Regions from separate parts of the Homo sapiens genome. Here region 2 is linked to region 1. Evidence: promoter capture Hi-C in human tissues and cell types (Jung and others, 2019). All regions are on one chromosome and are shown on one strand. The core of a region is centred on a gene start or on the middle of the fragment in contact, and the rest is flanking DNA. Distances in the headings are between cores, read along the strand shown. Region 1 holds the start of OVCA2 (OVCA2 serine hydrolase domain containing). Region 2 overlaps RPA1 (replication protein A1).

The links. Contacts are between HindIII fragments. The study calls those that stand out against the background at their distance.
Region 2: a fragment that was not itself captured here is called in contact with the fragment with the promoter of OVCA2 in region 1 in 4 of the 25 tissues and cell types used here (IMR-90 fibroblasts, aorta, dorsolateral prefrontal cortex and 1 more).

What each region holds. Positions count from the first base shown.
Region 1 is chr17:2,040,772-2,045,171 of GRCh38, reverse strand. It overlaps OVCA2 (OVCA2 serine hydrolase domain containing), which reads right to left and starts at 3,150. Exons shown (of 2, transcript NM_080822.3): 1 at 2,941-3,150; 2 at 1,747-2,567. The coding sequence starts at 3,124. The coding sequence ends at 2,068. It overlaps DPH1 (diphthamide biosynthesis 1), which reads right to left. Exons shown (of 13, transcript NM_001383.6): 10 at 3,991-4,069; 11 at 3,551-3,691; 12 at 3,297-3,404; 13 at 1,274-2,567. The coding sequence ends at 3,315. RefSeq lists silencers at 2,848-3,047, 3,558-3,647 and an enhancer at 3,238-3,297. The HindIII fragment of the contact is 24,727 bases long and covers 1-4,400 here.
Region 2 is chr17:1,848,533-1,852,779 of GRCh38, reverse strand. All of the region lies in intron 4 of RPA1 (replication protein A1), which reads right to left. Among named protein-coding and RNA genes, the nearest start is that of RPA1, 21 kb to the right of the region's middle. The HindIII fragment of the contact is 7,908 bases long and covers 1-4,247 here.

The sequences.
Region 1 (4,400 bases), core at 1,901-4,400:
TAAATCAGAATTTTTTCTAAAATTCAATGGGTCAGATACCACAGTCTGTGTAATCAATCCATTCCAAAGTCTCCTCCTTTTGCTAAAGGAGAAGATTCCTTAAAACAAGGCAGAAGCCAACTGAAGCAAGGGAGAACCACCTCCCACCCCTCCCCACACACACTTTCCACACCCAGTAACTAGGTCTCTGGGCGGATAATTCTGTTTTGTTTTGTTTTTTTTAATTTTGGACAGCTAATCTCTGTAGTGAGGAACCCAGAACTTTCGGTAATGTAAGGGATATTAGTCTGGTTGTCAGAAAAATGGGCTGGAGTATTTGTGCTGTGTCCCTGACCATAATTCCTGCTCAGTTGCTTAGCTCCCTGGCAACTATGTCTGAGGGCTAAACAGGAGTTGGTGTGATCTTCCAGAAAAAGAACAGGCTTCTTGTCTTGCAGAGGCAGGAAGTCAGAAAACAAGAGTGTGTGTGTGTGTGTCAGGGGGTGGGGGGTGTCAGGTGGCACTGGAAATGGGAGGGAACTCATTAAGAGTGGGCAATTGGCCAGGTGAGGTGGCTCACGCCTGTTAATTCCAGCACTTTGGGAGGCCAGGACAGGTGGATTGCTTGAGCTCGCAAGTTGGAGACCATCCGCACAACATGGTGAGACCCCTTCTCTACAACAAATACAAAAATTAGCCAGGCATGGTGATTTGCGCCTGCAGCCCCAGCTGCTTGGGAGGCTGAGGTGGGAGGATGGATGGCTTGAGCCCGGGAGGTGGAGGCTGTCAAGATTGTGCCACTGCACTCCAGCCTGGGTGATAGAGTCAGACCTTGTCTTTAAAAGTAAAGAAAACAAAAAAAGAGTGGGCAATCCTAGGTAGGTGCAGTGGCTCAGGCCTATAATCCTAGCACTTTGGGAGGCTGAGGCAGGTGGATTGTTTGAGCTAAAGAGTTTTGAGACCAGCCTGGGCAACGTGGCAAAACCCTATCTCTACAAAAAAATATAGAAATTAGCCAGGCGTGGTGGCGCATGCCTGTAACGCCACCTACTCAGGAGGCTGAGACAGAACTGCTTGAACCCAGGAGGCTGAGGTTGCAGTGAGCCAGGATCTTGGCCACTGCTCTCCAGCCTGGGTGACAGAGTGAGCCTGTCTCAAAAAAAAAAAAAAAAAGAGTGAGCAATCCTCAAAGTATCCAAGAACAACTACACGCCCCAAGGGGAAAACCAGCTGGATTGCTTAGGCCTTGGCTGTAGTCACTAAAGAATGGCATCAATCTCAGAAACCCTCAAGATGGGGTCAATTTAGGAAGAAGCTGTTTATTCTGTACTGTCTTTGGCCTCCACCTAAGGTCTGGCATCGACCCACCCTTCAGGCTCATAGTTCAGCGAGGTTAGAGCACTTAGGGAGAAGCAGGTAACACATCCAGGGTTTGAGAGAAGACCAGCACACAACTCTCAGTGATCTGGATAGAGGAAGACTAAATTACTGTGGTTCAGGCAGCCTTGCCAGGTGATGTCTTCCCAAAACTTCTCAGATGTATATTCCTCCCTGATTGTGCCACCTAGGCCTCCTTCCCTTCAGTTTGGGACTTAAAACTTCCACCAATAACGTGAGTATGTGCACCCATGCAGCAGCCTGTCCGAGGACTCACAACTGGAGACACCTCCCTGCTTGGCGCTGCCCAGAAAACTATGTAGATGGCCAAGAAACCGACTTCCATTATAAAATGTTTTTCTGTGTGTACCAGGAAAAAGATGCTCAAAATCCAAATCACCACTTTATTATGTGGCAGTCACCATGGTGCCAGCCTCTGCCTTCCCCATGTCACCCTCCTAATCCAGGGCTCTCCAACCATATTCATGTTTGCGTTTTCACAAGTCAATGTCCATTAAGGCCTTGTGCTCCCCTTTTCTTCAGTACAGGGCAGGGCCCTTATAATTTGGGTCTCAAGAATTGATAGTTGTCTCTTAACTGGTTCTGGTGAGGCGCACTCACAGCAGTGAGTGGAGGGTCCTGGGAGGGCATGGATGACGGAGGCTGCCCCTAGAGGAGCTGGATGTAGGAGCAGAGACATTTCTTGATCTTTCACTCTGCAAACTGGTCCAAGAACTTGAGGTAGGCCTGACGCTGGGGTGCAGCTGCTGGAATGAAGTGGCCACCAGAGTGGGTGAGGGTGATGGCTCCGGGAAATTGGCTGGCCAGTTGCACACTCTCCTGAGAGGGGATGACTTTGTCAGTGTCCCCAAAAACATGGAGCGAAGGCAATGACAAGGGCCTTTGCAGGATGGATTCCTTGAACCCAATGCCCCGGGGACAGAAACCAGACACCAAGAGGATAAACCGTGGCAAGGGGAAGCGGGGATCGCCTGCCTGGCCCAGGGCACACACAAGGGCTGCTAGCGCAGCCCCTTGGCTGAAACCAAGAAGGCCGTCAAAAGGCCCCAGCCTGTTCAGTGCCTGTGCCACCATCCCCAGTGATTCCTCCAGGCCCCTGCAGACGGCGGGCTCTTCCAATGCGGAGAAAACGTCGGCCTCCTGCTCTGAAAACCACCAGCCTCGAGGCTGCTCCTCCGGAGGGCAGGACCCTACAGCGATATGAGGAAAAAGGATGGGATTAGGGCATGGGAGGCTCCAGGAAGGAAAGAAATGAGAAAGGGCAGGAGGGTTCGAGATGACAGAGAGAAAAAGGGAATCGAGGCAAAAGTCTGGGGGAAATGAGAGGGGGGAAATGAGTGGATTGGCCTGAACAGGAGACAGCGGAGGAAGACGGTGAAGGCGGAAGCCTGGGAGGACAGGCTGCAGTTTGAGCAAAGAGGGTATGGGTCGCGAGAAATGAAGGGTGTGGACTGGGTGGGAGGAATGCGGGTGGACGCAGGGTGGGGGATGCTGAAGGGTGTCGAGGGGGACGAAACAAGATGGAGGAAACTGAGTGCGTTTCCGGAGCGGGGCTTGTCTCACCGAAGTCTGATCTGGCGCCCTCGGGGCCCGGGGGGTCGGGGACCGGGTGCGGGCCGCTGAGGCACACGAGCTCGGCGCGACCCCGCAGCGCCTTCCTCAGCGCCCCGGTCTTCTCACGGAAGCCCCGCTCGCTCTGCCGGAAGCCCGCCAGGCACAGGACCCGCAGGGGTCGCTGCGCGGCCATTATGCCCGGCAAGGAGCGACGGAAGCACCGGAAGCGGTCTTTCCCCGAGCGGAAGCACAATGCACGGGGCGGAACCGAACGTCAGCACCGCCCCGAGGGCGGGCCTCGGAGCGCCAAGGCGTTCCCATGACAACGGCAAAAGGCGGGGCGCACCCAGAGCGGGGGCTGATACCTGAGGCCCGGGAGCGCGTCAAGGAGCCAGCGGCGCCACCTTCTCGTCCCTGCAGCTGCAGTCCTCGCAAGCCACGGCCGAAGGGGGACGCGCGGACCCCTCCTGCACCTGAGGTCGCAGACTTTGGTTAGGGTCTCGCTCCTGCGACCCTGCGTTTCCCTCCGCTCCGCTCCTGTGCGTTTCCCGTCGCGGTCGCAGGGCGGCGGCCAGTGCCCAGGCGCGGTCTCTCCTCCCTCCTGGAAGCCCCCGCCTACCTTCCCCCGCGCGGGCCGGCCCGGGGCGTGGGGACGGCGGTCCTGGCCGTGGTTCACCGTCCAGGGCCCCAAGGAGCTGCCAGCGTAGAAGTCCATCGGGTAGGGCTGCTGCCAGGAAATGTCCCTCAGAGCCACGGCCGCCTAGGGGAGGGGAGGGAGGGACAATAACATCTGCCAGTGTTTTTCTGCCCCTGGATTACTGAATTCAGTCCTCACGACGGCCTGTGAAGGGCACACTGTCCCCTGCCACAGAAGGGAACTGTGTGGTTCAGGGCCTTGCCTAAGGCTACACAGCTAGGAAGTGACTCCGCTGGAGAAATCGAGACAGACTCCGGAATCTACGAACATAACGAAGTGCTGCCCACCCACCCCACTCCACTCCAGACCTCACCTTTGAGAACCACGTCCAAAGCCCACTCTCTCCCAGAGCTTGGTGTTACCTCATAGGGTGTCAGCAGCGGCTTGGGGAAGGCTGTGCCCCAGTCAATGGAGAGACGTGGACATGCCACCTGCACCCACCTGGGAAGGGAAGCCAGGTCAGACCCTAGGAAGGGCCTCCTCGTCGCCCAGGCAGCATGCTGAAGAACATGACAGTGCCCCCAGCACACCCATTCATTAACAGGCTTTATGAATCCTAAAGTAAAGACAGTGACCCACTGCTGTTTGGAATACTGTATTGTTGCGTGTTTTCTCCTGTTTCCTCTGCCGACAATGAGCTTTCCAGGGCAGCTCACTGGTGATAGTATCCCCAGAACCACATTTAGTACCTGGTACAGGGCAGGTGTCAGCCACCGCTCAAACTCATCTCACAAGGACAAATGTGATGTTGCCATTGCCTCTGAGCCCCAAA
Region 2 (4,247 bases), core at 282-2,781, 190 kb after region 1:
ATACTTATCTCAACAATGACTTTTTCCCAGTGAAAACCAATTATGACAATAGATATTTTAAAAAATGTAATAATGACCCATTTTTAAGAACTTACAGTTCTTTTGCTTTTTAACTCTAATTAAAACGTTGTGATAACTTCCCAATGACCTTAGGCCACAAAGAAAAACCTGGGCCATGGCTTGCCTGGCCTGGCCTTGCTAACCCCCCTCCCGTGCCGCTGCCTGCCCTCTGCCCTCTGCCCTCTGGCCTTCCTGTTTTCTTTCAGTTCCACCACATGGGACAGTCCCTCTTGCCACAAGGCCTTTGTCCGTGATGCTCTGAGATTGCGGTGTTGTGTTCCTTCTCATTTTGCCTCATCTAATACTCATTTTTTAGCTCTCGTCTCAAACATCACTTCAAGAGACACTTCCTTAATCTCTAGTTGAGATCAGGTTGCTTTGTTCTAGTCTTTCCTACAGCCTTGATTTCTTTCCTTCAGAACACTCTGCTCCGTCTTAATTATATGTTCATTAGTGATTATTTTATTATTCTCTCTCGCTCCTACTAGACTGTACTGTCAATAAAGACAGGTATCCCTCAGTGCTTAATGAAGCAAATGGCCCACAGTTGTTGCTCAATACATACTTGATGAGCATATCACAATGTCTGCATTTTAAAAAGAAGGAATTTAATGGGAACATGACTGGAGGCAGGGAGACCAAGAGAAGAGACAAAATGACAGAGGCCTGAATGAGGTTAGTGGCAAGGGAGCTGAAGAAACAGGCCTAGGGCAATATTTAAGCAATAATCTACCCAAATTCATCACGTTTTAGACTTTAAATGGTCTGACTGCTGTTTTTGGATTTTTACATACAATCAATCGTTTGTTTTAAATGGTCTGACTGCTATAATTTGGATTTTTACATACAATCAATCAGTGTGTGCTACCCTTATCAGGTTTCACATCAGAGTTTCAATAAGATAAGCCTGAAATTATCTGTTCCTGAAAATGGTATCTAGATTCCCTGTAATAACTATCTGATACTTAGTGGCAGATATTTAACTACTTTCCAAATTATACAAATCACTCCAGAACATATAAAAATAGAAGGCCTATGAATCATTTAGTATGACTCTAATACTAAAACCTAAGACAAAACACACACACAAAACCAAAACTAATTTCATCCTGCAATATCCCATAAATCCTAAATAAAATATCAGCAAGATGAACCTAGCAGCATATTAAAAGAATACACTAATATCAACTTACAGAGAATACAGATGACAAGGACACATTAAGTGACTTTACAGGGATGCAATCAGCCAAATCCAGACTGGGGGAAACTGCACAAGGTGAAGGATAAATGACCTGGTTTCTTCAGCAAATAAACAGTAAAGGAGAAAAAAGGCAGACGCAGAGCCTACAGATTCAGAGAGACTTAACAGACCATCAATCTACCGTCACAGGAAACTTATTTTGGATTCTGATTCATATAGATTGTGTGGGCACACACACACACACGCACACGCACATACACACGCACATATACAACAAGATGGAAATACAACACGGACGGTATTTTTTTAGGTGTGAAATGGGATAGTGTCTTTTTAAGAGTTTTTATCTTTCAAAAATACATACTAAAATATTTATGGATGAAATAATATGATGTCTGAGATTTACCTCAAAATTACAGAGGATAGTGGACGTTGAAAGGATGGAGCTAGAGCAAAACTGGACAACAGATGACAATTTGGAGCTGAATGATGGGCTATATGGGGATTCATCAGACTACTGTGTATTCTGTCTATGTTTGTAGATGTTTAAAGTTTTCCAGAAAAAAGATTTTTAAAAATAAAAAGAGAAAATTAGCAAGCTAAGATAATTCTTATTTTTTTTTTTGAGAGAGAGAGTCTCACTCTGTCACCCAGGCTGGAGCGCAGTGGCACAATCTCAGCTCACTGCAACCTCCGCCTCCCAGGTTCAAGCAATTTTCCTGCCTCGGCCTCTTGAGTAGCTGGGATTACAGGCACCCGCCACCACACCTAATTTTTGTATTTTTAGTAGAGACAGGGTTTCACCATGTTGGCCAGGCTGGTCTCGAACTCCCCATCTCAGGTGATCCACCTGCCTCAGCCTCCCAAAGTGCTGGGATTACAAGCATGAGCCACCAGCACAGCCTAGGATTTTTTTTTAAGGCAGGATTTATTGCAAGAATGAAACAAGAGTTGAATTATTAGGCAATCCTTTTTTTTTTTTGAGACGGAGTCTTGCTCTGTCACCCAGGCTAGAGTACAGTGGGGCAATCTCAACTCACTGCAACCTCCGCCTCCTGGTTTCAAGTGATTCTCTTGCCTCAGCCTCCCGAGTAGCTGGGACTATTAGGTGTGTGCCTCCATGCCTGGCTAATTTTTGTATTTTCAGTAGAGATGGTGTTTCACCATGTTGGCCAGCCAGGCTGGTCTTGAACTCCCCACCTCAGGTGATCCACCTGCATTGGCCTCCCAAGGTGCTGGGATTACAGGCGTGAGCCACCAGCCTAGCCCTAGGATTATTTTTTTAAGGCAGGATTTATCGCAAGAATGAAACAAGAGTTGAATATTAGGTAATCTTTTTTTTTTTTTGAGATGGAGTCTTGCCCTGTCGCCCAGGCTAGAGTGCAGTGGGGCGATCTCAACTCACTGCAACCTCCATCTCCCGGGTTCAAGTGATTCTCCTGCCTCAGTCCCCCGAGTAGCTGGGACTATAGGCATGTGCCACCACGCCTGGCTAATTTTTGTATTTTCAGTAGAGACAGGGTTTCACCATGTTGGCCAGGCTGGTCTCGAACTCCTGACCTCAAGTGATCCACCCACCTCGGCCTCCTAAAGTGTTGAGATTACAGGCATGAGCCACCACGTCCAGCCTAGATAATCTATTAAAATAGTTCATTAAATATGATCATATCAAGATGTAGTAAAAGCTTTGAAAGAATTTACGAGCCATTTCTGATGAAATCCTGAGGACTTAAAAAATAAAACCTGCACCTGGTAAACTGCGCGTTTTTCCACGATCAACACTGCATTGAACAGTGAAACCAAAAGCATTTCCATGAAAATCAGGCAACTGCTGACATTACCATCGTCCAACAAAGTTTTGACAGCGCTGTCAATACAGTAAAATTAAAAAAAAAAAAAACAAAATGACAAATATGAGAATAAGGAATGCCGGGTGCGGTGGCTCACGCCTGTAATCCCAGCACTTTGGGAGGCCGAGGTGGGCAGATCATGAGGTCAGGAGATCGAGATCATCCTGGCTAACACAGTGAAACCCCGTCTATACTAAAAATACAAAAAATTAGCCGGGCGTGGCGGTGGGCACCTGTAGTCCCAGCTACTGGGGAGGCTGAGGCAGGAGAATGGCGTGAACCCGGGAGGCGGAGCTTGCAGTGAGCCGAGATCGCACCACTGCACTCCAGCCTGAGAGACAGAGCGAGACTCCGTCTCAAAAAAAAAAAAAAAAAAAAAGAACAGCCAACAAAAATTTGGAGGGAAAAAGTAAAGAAAGACCTTGTCTATAAACTACTAAATAGTCTACAGAGAAGTTTAACTGAAACTCTATGGAGTGTAATTTGAAGTACTGGCAAGAACGGGGAGAAACTCCACACTCACGCGCTGTTGGCAGGGAGGTAAACTGGTGTACACACTTTGAACAATAGCCTCAAAAAGTTAACCATAAAATGACCATTTAGCCTAGCAATTCCTTTCCTAGACAGATTATCTATAAAAGAAATGGAAACGTCTGTCCACAAAAAACTTGTACACAAATGTTCATAGAATTATTAGTAATAGCAAGCAGGCAGAAATAATCCGAATGCCCATCAACTAACGAATAGATACACAAAATGTGATGTATCTAGACAACAGAGTATTATTCTGCCATAAAAAGGAACAGGCTGGGTGCGGTGGCTCACACCTGTAATCCTAGGACTTTGGGAGGCCGAGGTGGGTGGATCACAAGGTCAGGAGTTTAAGGCCAGCCTGGCCAAGATGGTGAAACCCCGTCTCTACTAAAAATACAAAAAAATTAGCCAGGCATGGTGGTGCACATCTGTAATCCCAGCTACCCAGGAGGCTGAGGCAGAGAATTGCTTGAACTCGGGAGGCAGAGGTTGTAGTGAGCCGAGATGGCACCATTGCACTCCAGCCTGGGCAAGAAAAACTTGTCACCCAGGATGGAGTACAATGGCGCAATCTTGACTCACTGCAACTTCTGCCTCCCGGG